2 separate regions of the Homo sapiens genome follow, and region 1 is linked to region 2. The links are contacts of gene promoters, found by promoter capture Hi-C in human tissues and cell types (Jung and others, 2019). All regions are on one chromosome and are shown on one strand. Each heading gives the region's core, a stretch centred on a gene start or on the middle of the fragment in contact. The rest is flanking DNA. Distances are from core to core; before and after follow the strand shown.

What was found. The method cuts DNA at HindIII sites, captures the fragments that hold promoters and counts their contacts. A contact is called where the count stands out against the background at its distance.
Region 1: a fragment that was not itself captured here is called in contact with the fragment with the promoter of THSD1 in region 2 in 1 of the 25 tissues and cell types used here (spleen).

The regions. Positions count from the first base shown.
Region 1 is chr13:52,640,933-52,647,215 of GRCh38, reverse strand. It overlaps HNRNPA1L2 (heterogeneous nuclear ribonucleoprotein A1 like 2), which reads right to left and starts at 4,785. Exons shown (of 1, transcript NM_001389320.1): 1 at 3,443-4,785. The coding sequence starts at 4,723. The coding sequence ends at 3,761. The HindIII fragment of the contact is 6,422 bases long and covers 1,221-6,283 here.
Region 2 is chr13:52,403,453-52,410,372 of GRCh38, reverse strand. THSD1 (thrombospondin type 1 domain containing 1) reads left to right here and starts at 4,201. Exons shown (of 5, transcript NM_018676.4): 1 at 4,201-4,342. RefSeq lists a silencer at 4,112-4,271. The HindIII fragment of the contact is 14,115 bases long and covers 1-6,920 here.

The sequences.
Region 1 (6,283 bases), core at 3,182-5,681, 240 kb before region 2:
AAATAGACAGATTAATGGAACAGAGAATCCATAAATAGACCCATACCATATGTAGACAGCTGATTTTTAACAAAGGTCCAAAGGTAATTCAGTGGAGAAAAAACAGTTGAAAAGGAGAGACTTTAAAACAGACTGGATATACATGTGCCAAAAAGTGAGTTTCAGTGTGTATCTTTGCACCATGTACAACAATTCACTCAAAATGGATTATGGGGCTACAACTCCTATAAAACTTCTAGAGGAAAGAAAATCTTTGTGATCTTGGGTTAGACAAAGATTTCTTAGCACACCAAAAGCATGATCCATAAAAGAAGAAATTTGTAAATTAGACTTCACCAAAATTTAAAAGATTCTACACTATGAAAATATTTGCAATCACATCTCTGATGAAGAGCTTGCATCCAGAATATATGAAGATGTCTCAAAACTCAGAAACTGTAAGTCAATAGGGAAATAGAAATTAAAACCACAACCATATGCCACTACACACCCATTTAAACGGCTAAAAGGAGAAAGACTGACCATGTTGGCAAGGATGTAGAGCAACTGGAAGACTCATACACCACTGGTAGGAATGTAAAAAGGCACAACCATAAAATGACTTAGACCACTGCTACACAATTAGCACCCAAGAGATATGAAATAACATGTTCATGCAATGTTTGTACAAAATGTCTGTGTCTGTTTATAGCAGTTTTAATGGTTAACAGTTGAAAACTGGAAACAACCCAAATGTACATCAATAGGTGAATGGATAAACAGTAGTACAGCTGGCCAGGTGCAGTGACTCATGACTGTAATCCCACACTTTGGGAGGCGGAGGCGGGTGGATCACCTGAGATCAGGAGTTTGAGACTAGCCTGGCCAACCCTGTCTCGTCTAAAAATACAAAAAAATGTGGCACGCACCTATATTCCCAGCTACTCAGGAGGCTGAGGCAGGAGAACCATTTGAATGCAGGAGGTGGAGGTTGCAGTGAGCCAGGATCACACCACTGCACTCCAGCCTGAGCGACAGAGCGAGACTCCATCTCAAAACAAACAAAAAACAACAGCAGTATAGCCAGTATAGCCATACAATGGAATACTGCTCAGCAATAAAAGGAATGAAGTATTGCTACACACTATAACATGGATGAATCTCAAAATTATGCTAAGTGAAAAAAATCAGACAAAAATAGTACATTTTGTATGATTCCATTTATATAAAATCCTGAAAAATTTTAAAACTCATCTGTATGACAATCAGTGGTTTACTGGGTGGGGGTGGGGGCTGGAGAGCAGGGTGGAATTTCAAGAATAAAAGGGGCATGAGGAAACATTGGGGTAATAGGTATGTTCACTATCTTGATTATGGTGATGATTTTACGAGTGTATACATATGTAACACTTCAAACTGTACACTTTAAATAATGTGCATGGTTTGCTTTATGTCAACTATAGCCCTATAAAGCTATTTTATTTTATTTTATTTTTTGAGATGGAGTCTTGCTCTGTTGCCCAGGCTGGAGTACAATGGCGTGATCTCGGCTCACTGTAAGCTCTGCCTCCCGGGTTCACACCATTCTCCTGCCTCAGCCTCCTGAGTAGCTGGGACTATAGGCACCCGCCACCACACCCAGCTAATTTTTTGTATTTTTAGTAGAGATGGGGTTTCACCTTGTTAACCAGGATGGTCTCGATCTCCTGACCTCATGATCCGCCCGCCTTGGCCTCCCAAAGTGCTGGGATTACAGACGTGAGCCACCGCGCCCGGCCTAAAGCTATTTTTTTAAAACACATTTAGAGCTATAGATAAGAATTGATAGTCATCAGCATATGGATGGTGGTAAGCAACATAAGAACATGAGCACAAGGAGGCCAGGCGCAGTAGCTCACACTTGTAATCCCATCACTTTGGGATGCCAAAGCAGGAGCATCCCTTGAGCCCAGGAGCTCGAGACCAGCCTGGGCAATATGGTAAAACACTTTCTCTACAAAATACATTAGCCAGATGTGGTGGTGCATGCCTGTAGTCCACTGAGTGTACTGAGGCTGAGGTGGGAGGATTGCTTGAGCCCAGGTCGAGGTTCAGTGAGCTGTTATCATGCCACTGCACTCCAACCTGGGCAACAGAGCGAGACCCTGTCTCAAAAAAGAAAGAAAAAAAAGGCAAGGAGAATATGTAGTTTTCTCACTTAATAAATATTGAATCCCTCCTATGTATAGATATGCGAGGGACTGGGGATACTAAAATGACTGCAATCTTGGTGCTTAATAATCTAGTGTTGGAATCACGCATATCAACAGGCAGTTATTATAGTGTCATATATGTCTAAATGGGAGAGATTAAAGGGGTTCTGTGAAAGCAGTCAGAAGATTTTGAAAGCTCAGAGTAAGTAATGTCTCAGCCAAAGCCTGAAGAACATATAGGAGGTAACCAGCATGAGATAACCTGTGCTGAGCAGAGTGGGCTTGAAATCAGATCTAGCGGAGTGATTTGGAAAGTACAGCTTCAGGGGTGTTTATTTGCAAAAGCCCCTTCAAACCCTATCTAATTTGTTAATATAATTTTGTACGTATTTTTCCTAAATAAATCCCCTCCCCACTCCCACAACCCCAACAAATTGTGTAAATTTTGGCCCCACAAAACCTGGATTTGTCCTTAAGTAGGTCTTTCTTTTGGGTTACTTAGAATTCAGCTCCTTCTTATGTCTGGGGAATTCCTTGAGTCTTCCCACTGAGCCAGTCTCCCTCTATAAAAGCTGAAAATGCCAAACAACTTAAGCTGAACTTGCACATACTTTAAAATTGGTAACTGGTTAGCAACAACAAATCAAGGAAGGACCTTAGTGTATCCTCTCCAGATGCAGTAGCACATGTGTCAAGATCAAATTCCCAAAGCAGCAGATAGTGTTACAAAGCAGTGTGTCAGTGCTTGGCAACAGTGGCTACAATCTCCTCACCCGACCAGTTATGCAGTATGGTTCCAGGATTTATTCCCAGCCGTGTGGCTCAGACTGATGCTGATTCTCTAGTCCTTTTGGCCATTCTGCAAGCAGCACAATATTCTTCTAATACAATTTATCTTATGCTGAAAACCAGAATCCATCTCTGTTGCTTACGACTAAGAATCCAAACTGATAGACAATTTGGTATTTGGAAGTGGAGTGCTACAAAACAGACCTAGAATGGTGTGTAATTGGCCGGGTGGAAAAGGCAGGATGGAGGGCATTGAGACACAACTGTTTCGGGCTGGGAAACTAGTGACTCTGAGACAGGACACCAAGCTCACACCATCAAGAAATGTACTCTAAAGCTGAGCAGCCTTAGAAAGAGTCTTCTTCCCAGTGCTCATATTAGATGTGGCTGTTGAGGACAAAACACCAGAGAGCCACAGCCACCAGATGAAAAAGCAGCCTACGGATTCCACCAAAGATCTTTTTTTTTTTTAGAGACATTTATTCAGCGTCACAATCAGACTATTACATTTAGCAATCAACAGCATGGGTGCAAAAAAAAAAATCTACATTAAAACACTTTGTTGGAATGCTTTACACTTTCCACAGAACAGAAACTAAAATAACCTGTTATACAATTAGTCACAAATACAGTCCTCGAGTTTTTTGCCCATACACATGAGTATTTGTCTAAAACATGTCTTCTTTGTAGCAGCTAGGCCCTGCCACCACTGTGCTTGGCTGAGTTCACAAATCTGTTGTAACCTGTAGCTTCCCTGTCACTTCTCTGGCTCTCCTCTCCTGCTAAGCTTTGTTTCCTAATTAAAATCTTCTGCCACTGCCATAGCTACTGCTGCTGCTGGAAACGCCATAGCCACCTTGGTTTTGTGGTTTTGCAAAGTATTGGCCTCCACCGCCATAGGGGCCAGAGCTTCTGCCTCCAAAATTTCCTCCCTTCATGGGTCCAAAATTTGAAGACTGATTGTTGTAATTGCCAAAATCATTGTAGCTTCCACCACCTCCAAAATTGCTTCCATCATTACCAAATCCATTATAGCCATCCCCACTGCCACCATATCCACCACCACCACAGCTGCCACCAAAGCCACCACGACCACTGAAGTTTCCTCCACGACCAAAGTTGTCATTCCCACCGAAACCATCTCCACGACCACCACCAAAGTTTCCAGAACCCCTTCGACCTCTTTGGCTGGATGAAGCACTAGCCATCTCTTGCTTTGGCAGGGCTTTTCTAACTTCACAGTTGTGGCCCTTCACAGTATGGTATTTCTGAATGACAATCTTATCCACGGAGTCATGGTCGTCAAAGGTTACAAAGGCAAAGCCCCTTTTCTTGCCACTGCCTCGGTCAGTCATGATTTCAATTACTTCAATTTTTCCATACTGTTCAAAATAATCTCTTAGGTGATGTTCTTCAGTGTCTTCTTTAATGCCACCAACAAATATCTTTTTCACAGTTAAGTGGGCACCTGGTCTTTGAGAATCTTCTCTGGAGACAGCTCTCTTTGGTTCCACAACTCTTCCATCCACCTTGTGTGGCGTTGTATTCATAGCTGCATCCACCTCCTCCACAGTGGCATATGTGACAAACCCAAAGCCCCTGGAGCGCTTGGTGTTTGGATCTCTCATTACCACACAGTCTGTGAGCGTTCCCCATTGCTCAAAATGGCTCCTCAGGCTCTCATCAGTTGTTTCAAAGCTCAACCCTCCAATGAAGAGCTTCCTCAGCTGTTCGGGCTCTTTTGGAGACGCTGACTTAGACATGACGGCAAGGTGAAGAGAGACTTTAACGATGCTTCTTCAGCGGCGTCCACGGGCAGAAAAAGTCCACCAGAGATCTTAGATATGAAGCTGGATAGAGTATTTGGATGAGATTCTGGCTGATTCTCTTTGGGAAATAAATACATTTTTCATATGGGCCTGAACATTTTTTAGTGTATGTACAGGAAGAAAGACAAGTATACATAACAGTAGGATACTTCATTCCTCCCTTCTTCCTTGCTGTGAAGCCCTAATTTTGTTTCTCCAGCACATGACTAAGTCATTTGTGGTAATCCCACATCCCACATTGTTGGGATCACCAACCCCACATTGTTGGCCATATTGGCAAACAATATGGTTTAAGAAGGGGTATATAACTAATCTAGCCAATTGGGCCATGCATGAGGTGTCTGCTCAGGGATTCTGGGAAAGGTCTCCTTATTGATAAACAGAAACACAGAATAAATTACTGCAGCTACCTTTAGCAATAGCCATCCTGGAAGACCAAACCAATATCCCAAGGAAAGTGAAAGCATAAGGATGGAGAAACCTAGTTCATCAGTGATACCAGTGAGCTCCTGAGTTAACCAACCCAGAAGCCTCCAAACTCCTGACTTTTTGTTTTGTATTATTTAATAATTTTGAGTTGGGTTTTTCTGTTTGCTTCTTGCAATTGAAAACATTCTTATTCTAATTGCTATTATGTCTGGGAGTGCAGAATTTGATCATAAGGCTGGTGAGATAAAGAAGAGGTGAGACCACATAGGGCCTCAACTCCATCTGAAAAGATTTAAAAAACCACTGAAGGCTTGACATAATTAGACTGACACTCCTATTGCACTGGGGAGAACAGATTGGAAGCGGACAAGTTGAAAACAGAGAATAAGAACAGTGACCTTTAGACAAAACTTGGGAGAACTCCAATCTTTGAAAAAGTCTCTGGAGCAACCCAAAGGGAACATCAGGAAATTATTTTTTACATGGTAAAAGGGGGAAAATATTACAGAAGCAGGATAGGACAGTTGGGCACTTCAGATTGGGCAAAACTGAAGGCAATAGAGAGTTTAGAGGAAAAGTGAGTTATGAAAGGTTATCAATTGATCAAGAGGTCCAGGAAGAGAAGGAAGGATGGGATTCAGCAATATGGAAATTGGTTACTCTTAGTGACCTTTGTAACAACAAATTCAGGGTAATAAGTCAAATGCAATACTACAGAGGGTTAAAGAATAAATGGAAAGTGAGGAAGGCAGCAAGTTTACAGGTTAAGGACAATGACAACAGCATCACAGGTCCTTCTTTAATAAACAATCTTGAGTCAATGATTTGGTGTGGAGAGGCCAAGTACTGACAGCCATGTCTTATTCAGGAGTTGATGACTAGATTATGTTAGGGCTACAGAGAGTCAAGATGTAATATCGGGACAGATCATGCTGGTCCTTGTAAACCCTGTTCAGAAGTTTGCATATTCCTTGTAAGAAATGATGGTAACTTAAACTAAGGTAGAAACATGAAGACAAATGACAAATTAAAAGCTTTTGAGGAGGTAAATTACCTGGGCTGCAT
Region 2 (6,920 bases), core at 2,952-5,451:
GGTCTCAAACTCCTGACCTCAAGTGATCCGTCTGCCTTGGCTTCCCAAAGTGCTGGGATTACAGGCATGAACCAGCCTGTAGTAAGTTCTGAAATTGGAAAGTGTGAGTCCTCCAAATACGCTCTTCATTTTCAAGATTGTTTTATCCTGTTCTGGGTTCCTTATACCCCCATATAATTTTTTTTTTTTTTCAGACAGGGTCTGGTTCTATTGCCCAGGCTGGAGCGCAGTGGCACAATCTCGGCTCACTGCAACCTCTGCCTTCTGGGCTCAAGCAGTCCTCCCGCCTCAGCCTCCTGATGGCTGGAACTACAGGTGCACACCACCACACCAGATAATTTTTGTACTTTTGTAACTCCAATGCCTGCTCTTTCCACTGAGCTTTTGCTTTTAAAACTGAAATGCCAGGGAGTGGGTGGTATGTATTTGAAAAAGAATCCTAGTGTAAATTGGTGAATGGAAATTAGACTAGATAATTCTACTGGCAGTGAAATTGGATGATCACCTTAAAGTCTTCTTTGAAACTTTGGATGGATTTAATTAGTATTGCTAGAAGTAACTATTTGACAAGATTGGTTGGTCTCACTCTGTCATGTAGGCTGGAGTGCAGTGGCGTGATCACTGTTCTCTGTAGCCCCAACCTCTCGGGCTCAAGTAATTCTCCCACCTCAGCCTCCAGAGTAGCTGGGACAACAGGTACATGCCACCACACCTGGCTAATTTTTTATTTATTTTATTTTTTGAGACGGGGTCTTACCCAGCCTGTGCAGTGGCATCATCTTGGCTCACTGAAGCCTCCACCTGGGTTCAAGTGATCCTCCTGCCTCAGCCTCCCAAGTAGCTGGGACCACAGGCACGTGCCATCACAGCCGGCTAGTACATTCTATTTTTGGTAGAGACAGGGTTTTGCCATGATGCCCAGGCTGGTCTTGAACTCTTGAGCTCAAGCGATCCACCTGCCTTGGCCTCCCAAATAATTTCTTATTTATTGTGGCGATGGAGTCTTGCTGTTTTGCCCAGGCTGGTCTAAAAGTACTGGGCTCATGCAAACCTCCTGCCTTGGTTTCCCAAATTGTTGTGATTACAGCCATGAGCCACTGCACCTGGCTGACAATATAAGTTCTTAGAAAATTTTATACCTCTGGTAACATATAAGTAAATACTTGTGCTACCTTTTTAAAAATGAAGTGATAGAGTCAAAGACCTGCAAATCACATATTTAAAAATTTTTTTTTAAATGAGGTACAGTTTACAAACTGTAATGCACAGATCTTCAGTCAGACAAGTTTTAACAAATGCTTAGTAAATCCATGTAACTCACACTCCAAACAGTAGAACATATCTGTCGCCCCCTAAAAGTTTCCTGGTGCCTCTTTCCTGTCATCGCTCTCCAAAGGCCACCACTGTGCTTTGATTTCCATTACCAGATATTAGTTTTGCTGTCAAATGGTATATTCTGCATACCGGATATTAGTTTTGCTGTCAAATGGTATATTCTGCATAAAAGAAAAGCAAGTGTTAAACCATACTGCATAGTTACTCAATTTAACAAGCACAGCTGTTAAGGTGGAATCTATCCTCTCATATATTCCCAAAAACTTAAAACTCTTTTTTAAATTTTAGTTTTAGATTTGGGGGTGCATATGCAGGTTTGTTACAAGGGTAATTGCATGTTGCTGAGGTTTGGGCTTCTATTGATCCTGTCACCTAGATAATGAACATAGTACTGAGAGGTGACAGCGTGCTGGCAGCCCTCACAGCCCTCGCTGGCTCTCAGCACCTCCTCTGCCTGGGCTCCCACTTTGGCGGCACTTAAGGAGCTCTTCAGCCCGCTGCTGCACTGTGGGAGCCCCTTCCTGGGCTGGGCTGGCTGAGGCTGGAGCTGGCTCCCTCAGCTTGCGGGGAGGTGTGGAGGGAGAGGCGCTGGCGGGAACCGGGGCTGCGCACGGTGCTTGCGGGCCAGCACGAGTTCCGGGTGGGTGTGGGCTCGGCGGGCCCGCACTCGGAGCGGCCGGTGGGCCCTGCCGGCCCCGGGCAATGAGGGGCTTAGCACCTGGGCCAGCAGCTGCAGAAGGTGTGCTGGGTCCCCCAGCAGTGCCGGCCCACCGGCGCTGCGCTCAATTTCTCGCAGGGCCTTAGCTGCCTCCCTGAGCAGGGCAGGGCTCGGGACCTGCAGCCCGCCATGCCTGAGCCTCCCCCACCTTCCATGGGCTCCTGTGAGGCCCGAGCTCCCTGACGAGCACCACCCCCTGCTCCACAGCGCCCAGTCCCATCGACCACCCAAGGGCTGAGGAGTGCGGGCACAGGGCGCGGGACTGGCAGGCAGCTCCACTTGCAGCCCCGGTGCGGGATCCACTGGGTGAAGCCAGCTAGGCTCCTCACTGGTGGGCACTTGGAGAACCTTTATGGCTAGCTAAGGGATTGTAAATACACCAGTCGGCACTCTATCTGGCTCAAGGTTTGTAAACACACCAATCAGCACCCTGTGTCTAGCTCAGGGTTTGTGAATGCACCAATGGACACTGTATCTAGCTACTCTTGTGGGGACTTGGAGAACCTTTGTGTGGACACTCTGTATCTAGCTAATGTAGTGGGGACGTGGAGAACCTTTGTGTCTAGCTCAGGGATTGTAAATGCACCAATCAGCGCCCTGTCAAAACAGACCACTCCGCTCTCTGTAAAATGAACCAATCAGCAGGATGTGGGTGGGGCCAGATAAGAGAATAAAAGCAGGCTGCACGCGCCGGCAGTGGCAACCCGCTGGGGTTCCCTTGCAAAGCGTGGGAGCTTTGTTCCTTGGCTCTTTGCAATAAATCTTGCTGCTGCTCACTCTTTGGGTCCACACTGCCTTTATGAGCTGTAACACTCACTGCGAAGGTCTGCAGCTTCACTTCTGAAGCCAGCGAGACTACGGACACACTGGGAGGAACGAACAACTCCAGACGCGCCGCCTTAAAAGCTGTAACACTCATGGCGAAGGTCCGCAGCTTCACTCCTGAACCAGCGAGACCACGAACCCACCAGAAGGAAGAAACTCTGAACACATCCGAACATCAGAAGGAACAAACTCCGGACAGGCCGCCTTTAAGAACTGTAACACTCACCGCGAGGGTCCGCAGCTTTATTCTTGAAGTCAGAAAGACCAAGAACCCACCAATTCCGGACACAGTACCCAATAGGATGTTTTTCAGCCCTTGCCCCTTTCTCTCCCTCCCTTGACTTGGAGTCTCCAGTGTTTGTTGTTGCCATCTTTATGTCCATGAGTACCCGTTGTTTAAGCTCCCACTTATAAGTGAGAACATTCGGTGTTTGGTTTTCTGTTCCTATGTTAATTCACTTAGGATAATGTCCTCCAACTGCATCCATGTTGCTACAGAGGACGTGATTTTGTTCTTTTTTTATGGCTGTTTAGTATTTCGTGGTGTGTATGTACCACATTTTCTTTACCCAGTCTACTGTTGATGGGCACCTAGGTTGATTCCATGTCTTTGCTATTGTAAATAGTACTGTGATAAACATAGTGCGGGTGTCTTTTTGGCAGAATGATTTATTTTCCTTTGGGCATACACCCAGTAATGGGATTGCTGGGTCGAATGATCTTTCTGTTTTTAGTTGAGAAATCTCCAAACTGCTTTCCACAGTGGCTGAACTAATTCACATTCCTATAAAAAGAACTTTAACACTTGCAGAGTAGAGTTTTTAAAATGTTTAGTTATTTTTAATACCAATTCTGACCCCAGGGAAAGAAAATGGAGATGCACTTTACCTGAACTATGTTCTTTTGAAACTCTTCAGTGACATTTGGGAAAGCAAGTTTACAGCCCACATGCTGTGCCGCTTCAAGGACTTATTTTTGTGGTCTCCCTGAAGAAAATGACACTAGAGTAGAAGTGATTGAATGTGAAGTGTCAGGAGATTGCTCGCTCGTCCTTCGTTAAACCCCTGGTCCGGCTGTGTGCTGTGGATGCGGGTGTGTGTTGAGGGGACCTGCGTCTGCCGGGGCCGCACCCCCTCCCGCAGGACCTTGGCTGGCCGCGCGTTTCCTGCCTGTTTCCTGTCCAGCAGCTGGCGAGCTGGGGACCGGCAGGAAAGGATGCGCTGCCCAGAAGGGGCGGGAACCGACCACGCCCGGTCCCGTGTGCCCCCCGCCCTCCCGGCGCCCGCCCTCCCCACGCCGTCGGGGGCGGGCCCCGCGGGGCTGTGGGAGCCGAACGCCGCGGGGTCAGGGCGTGCAGTCTGGGACGCGGGATGCTTGGCGCTCTACCTCGCCGCCCCTGAGCCTTCCCGTCCGCCTCGCCACGCGCCCGGACGGCCTGGGGTTGCTGCCCGTCAGTCTCGAAAGGTAAGAAGCGCCCTCCGCATCCTGGTGTTCGCGCCCGTGCCGCGAGACTCTTGGAGGCTCCTCTGGGGTCGGGAAATGCCTCCGGACTCTGCCACCTCACCGCAGCCTGAAGGCGCAGGTGGACGGTGGCGGCCCCTCCCCACACCCGCCTCGGCCCCAGGGGACGCTTTTAAGGGGTATTGGTCTCCACACTTCGGAGTCCCGAATTTAAGTGAACCTGGCTCTGCCTTGGCTCAGATGTTGCCGAGTGACTGAGACTGGCCACAGAACCTTGAAAAATCGCGTCTTGAGCTACTGTTTCTTTCCAAAAAGAAATCCTTTCTGATATACAAAAAGTATGAAATACAAGGATTAAATTAAATTAAAGACGGTCCTCATTAAGGAGGGCTTTAAGCTGACGACGCGAGGGGTAGACTTCCAGGCGTGAACTGGGCTTGCGGGCATTTGGGAAGCTGAGTAGATGGGGCGAGCCAGGGCGTCCCAGGAACGCTGCACCCAACCTGTGGGACCAGGGCAGAGCAAACTCGAATGAACAGATAAATGAAGCCTGTTTACACGAGCTGCTTTAGAACTAGAGATTTCCTCCCAATAAATACTATTGGTATATATACACACAAGCATGTGCATGTTGGTCAGAAGGGACAAAATAACTGCTTCGTTTTCCATTTTATTCTTTCACGAATCATTGGTCCCATGGACATTAGTGTAATTCATTTACTTTTTCTGCAGCTATGAAGGGAGATTTAGAAGCGTTTGTCCTAGCTGGTTTCAGCAAAAACATGGGGTCTCAGGTTGGGTGATGCTGTTAGCCATTGAGAATATTCACAACTTTTCCCCACCTTCTCAGCTGATGCATTTAGAATTTGTCTCTAAAGTTTACATACAAGAATGCTAGGTAGAAGTATTTTCAAATGTGTATAAAATATATCTAAGTTCTTAATTTCTTAGAACAATTCTCAATGCAAACATTGTAAGAAGTCAGTCGAGGTATTGAGAACAACATGTTGAAAGAAAATAAGCAAGGTAGAAAGAAATTAAAGAGACATATTATGACTAATGTTATGATCATATTCCATATTATGATTGACAAGTAGGCTGGTCTGTTTTATAAGTCTTTTTCCATTCAGCTCTAAATATAGATTGTCTCACCATTCTATGTTTTACCGATCATTTTCATAAGAAAGAAAATGTGTTATAATCACTAAATCAGTAATGATTTGGGGCTTCAAAAATAAAAATGTTATTGTCGTGGAAGCAAACAAATCTGAGAGAAGCCAGTTCAACTTTTGGGAGCTTGCTTCTTCTTAGTTTGGTTACCAGGTCTCAGTGACTTAAAAGAAGCATTGTAATTGTCTTAAGTGCTCACACTTGCCCAAGTGATGTGATGTGTTCTGCAAGGATCTTACTGGCTGACTTTGCCCAGGTTTCCCAGTCCATGTTCGAGGAAAGAATTGGGTCAAGTCTGTGGCTAATTCCACCCAAAACAATTTTCTTCTTCTTTCCTTTCTTTTCTTTTTTTTGGGTGGGGGTGGCGGGGAAGAGGAAGGAGCCCTAATCTGCATAGTTACACTTCAAATCTCTGTTTCCCTTTCAGGAAGTACAGTATTTCCTTTGTTCAGCAGCTCTTGCTGAAAGAAAGCTAATAAGACACACCAGTTTCCCTTCCATTGAATTCTGGCTTATTTCAATCAGTCTTCTTAATTCCACTAATTTGTGCTCTTATCTGAAAAGATGTAACATGTATTTGGAATATAATATACTTGCTTATTAAAATGATTAACTGTGGGCTGGGTGTGGTGGCTCACGCCTGTAATCCCAGCACTTTGGGAGGCCATGGTGGGCAGATCACGAGGCCAGACATCTGAGACCAGCCTGGCCAAAGTGGTGAAACACCGTTTCTACTAAAAATACAAAAATTAGCCAAGCGTGGTGGTGCACACCTATAATCCCCGCTACTCAGAAGCCTGAGGTGGGACAATCACTTGAACCTGGGAGGTGGAGGTTGCAGTGAGCCAAGATCATGCCACTGCACTCCAGGCTAGGTGACAGAGCAAGACTCTGTCTAAAAAAAAAAAAAAAAAAAAAAAAAAAATGTGAATAATGGGGGGGACCTTAAACATTAAGAAAGTACATATTTGGTTATATTTAATATTAATACATAGTTTGCTAGACTCTAGTATGAAAGAACTGTCTTAAATGCCCAGTATCTTATTCTATAGTTGAATAGTCTATATAAAAATAAGTGCCTTTTCCAGCCGGGTGCGGTGGCTTACGCCTGTAATCCCAGCACTTTGGGAGGCTGAGATGGGCAGATCACGAGGTCAGGAGATCGAGATCCTGCCTAACACAATGAAACCCCGTTTCTACTAAAAATACCAAAAATTAGCTGGGCATGGTGGTGGGCGCCTGTAGTCCCAGCTACTCGGGAGGCTGAGGCAGGAGAATGGCGTGAACCCGGGAAGCGGAGCTTGCAGTGAGCCGAGATCTCGCCACTGTACTCCAGCCTAGGCGACAGAGTGAGACTCCATCTCTAAATAAATAAATAAAATAAAATAAGTGCTTCTTCCAACAAATAACT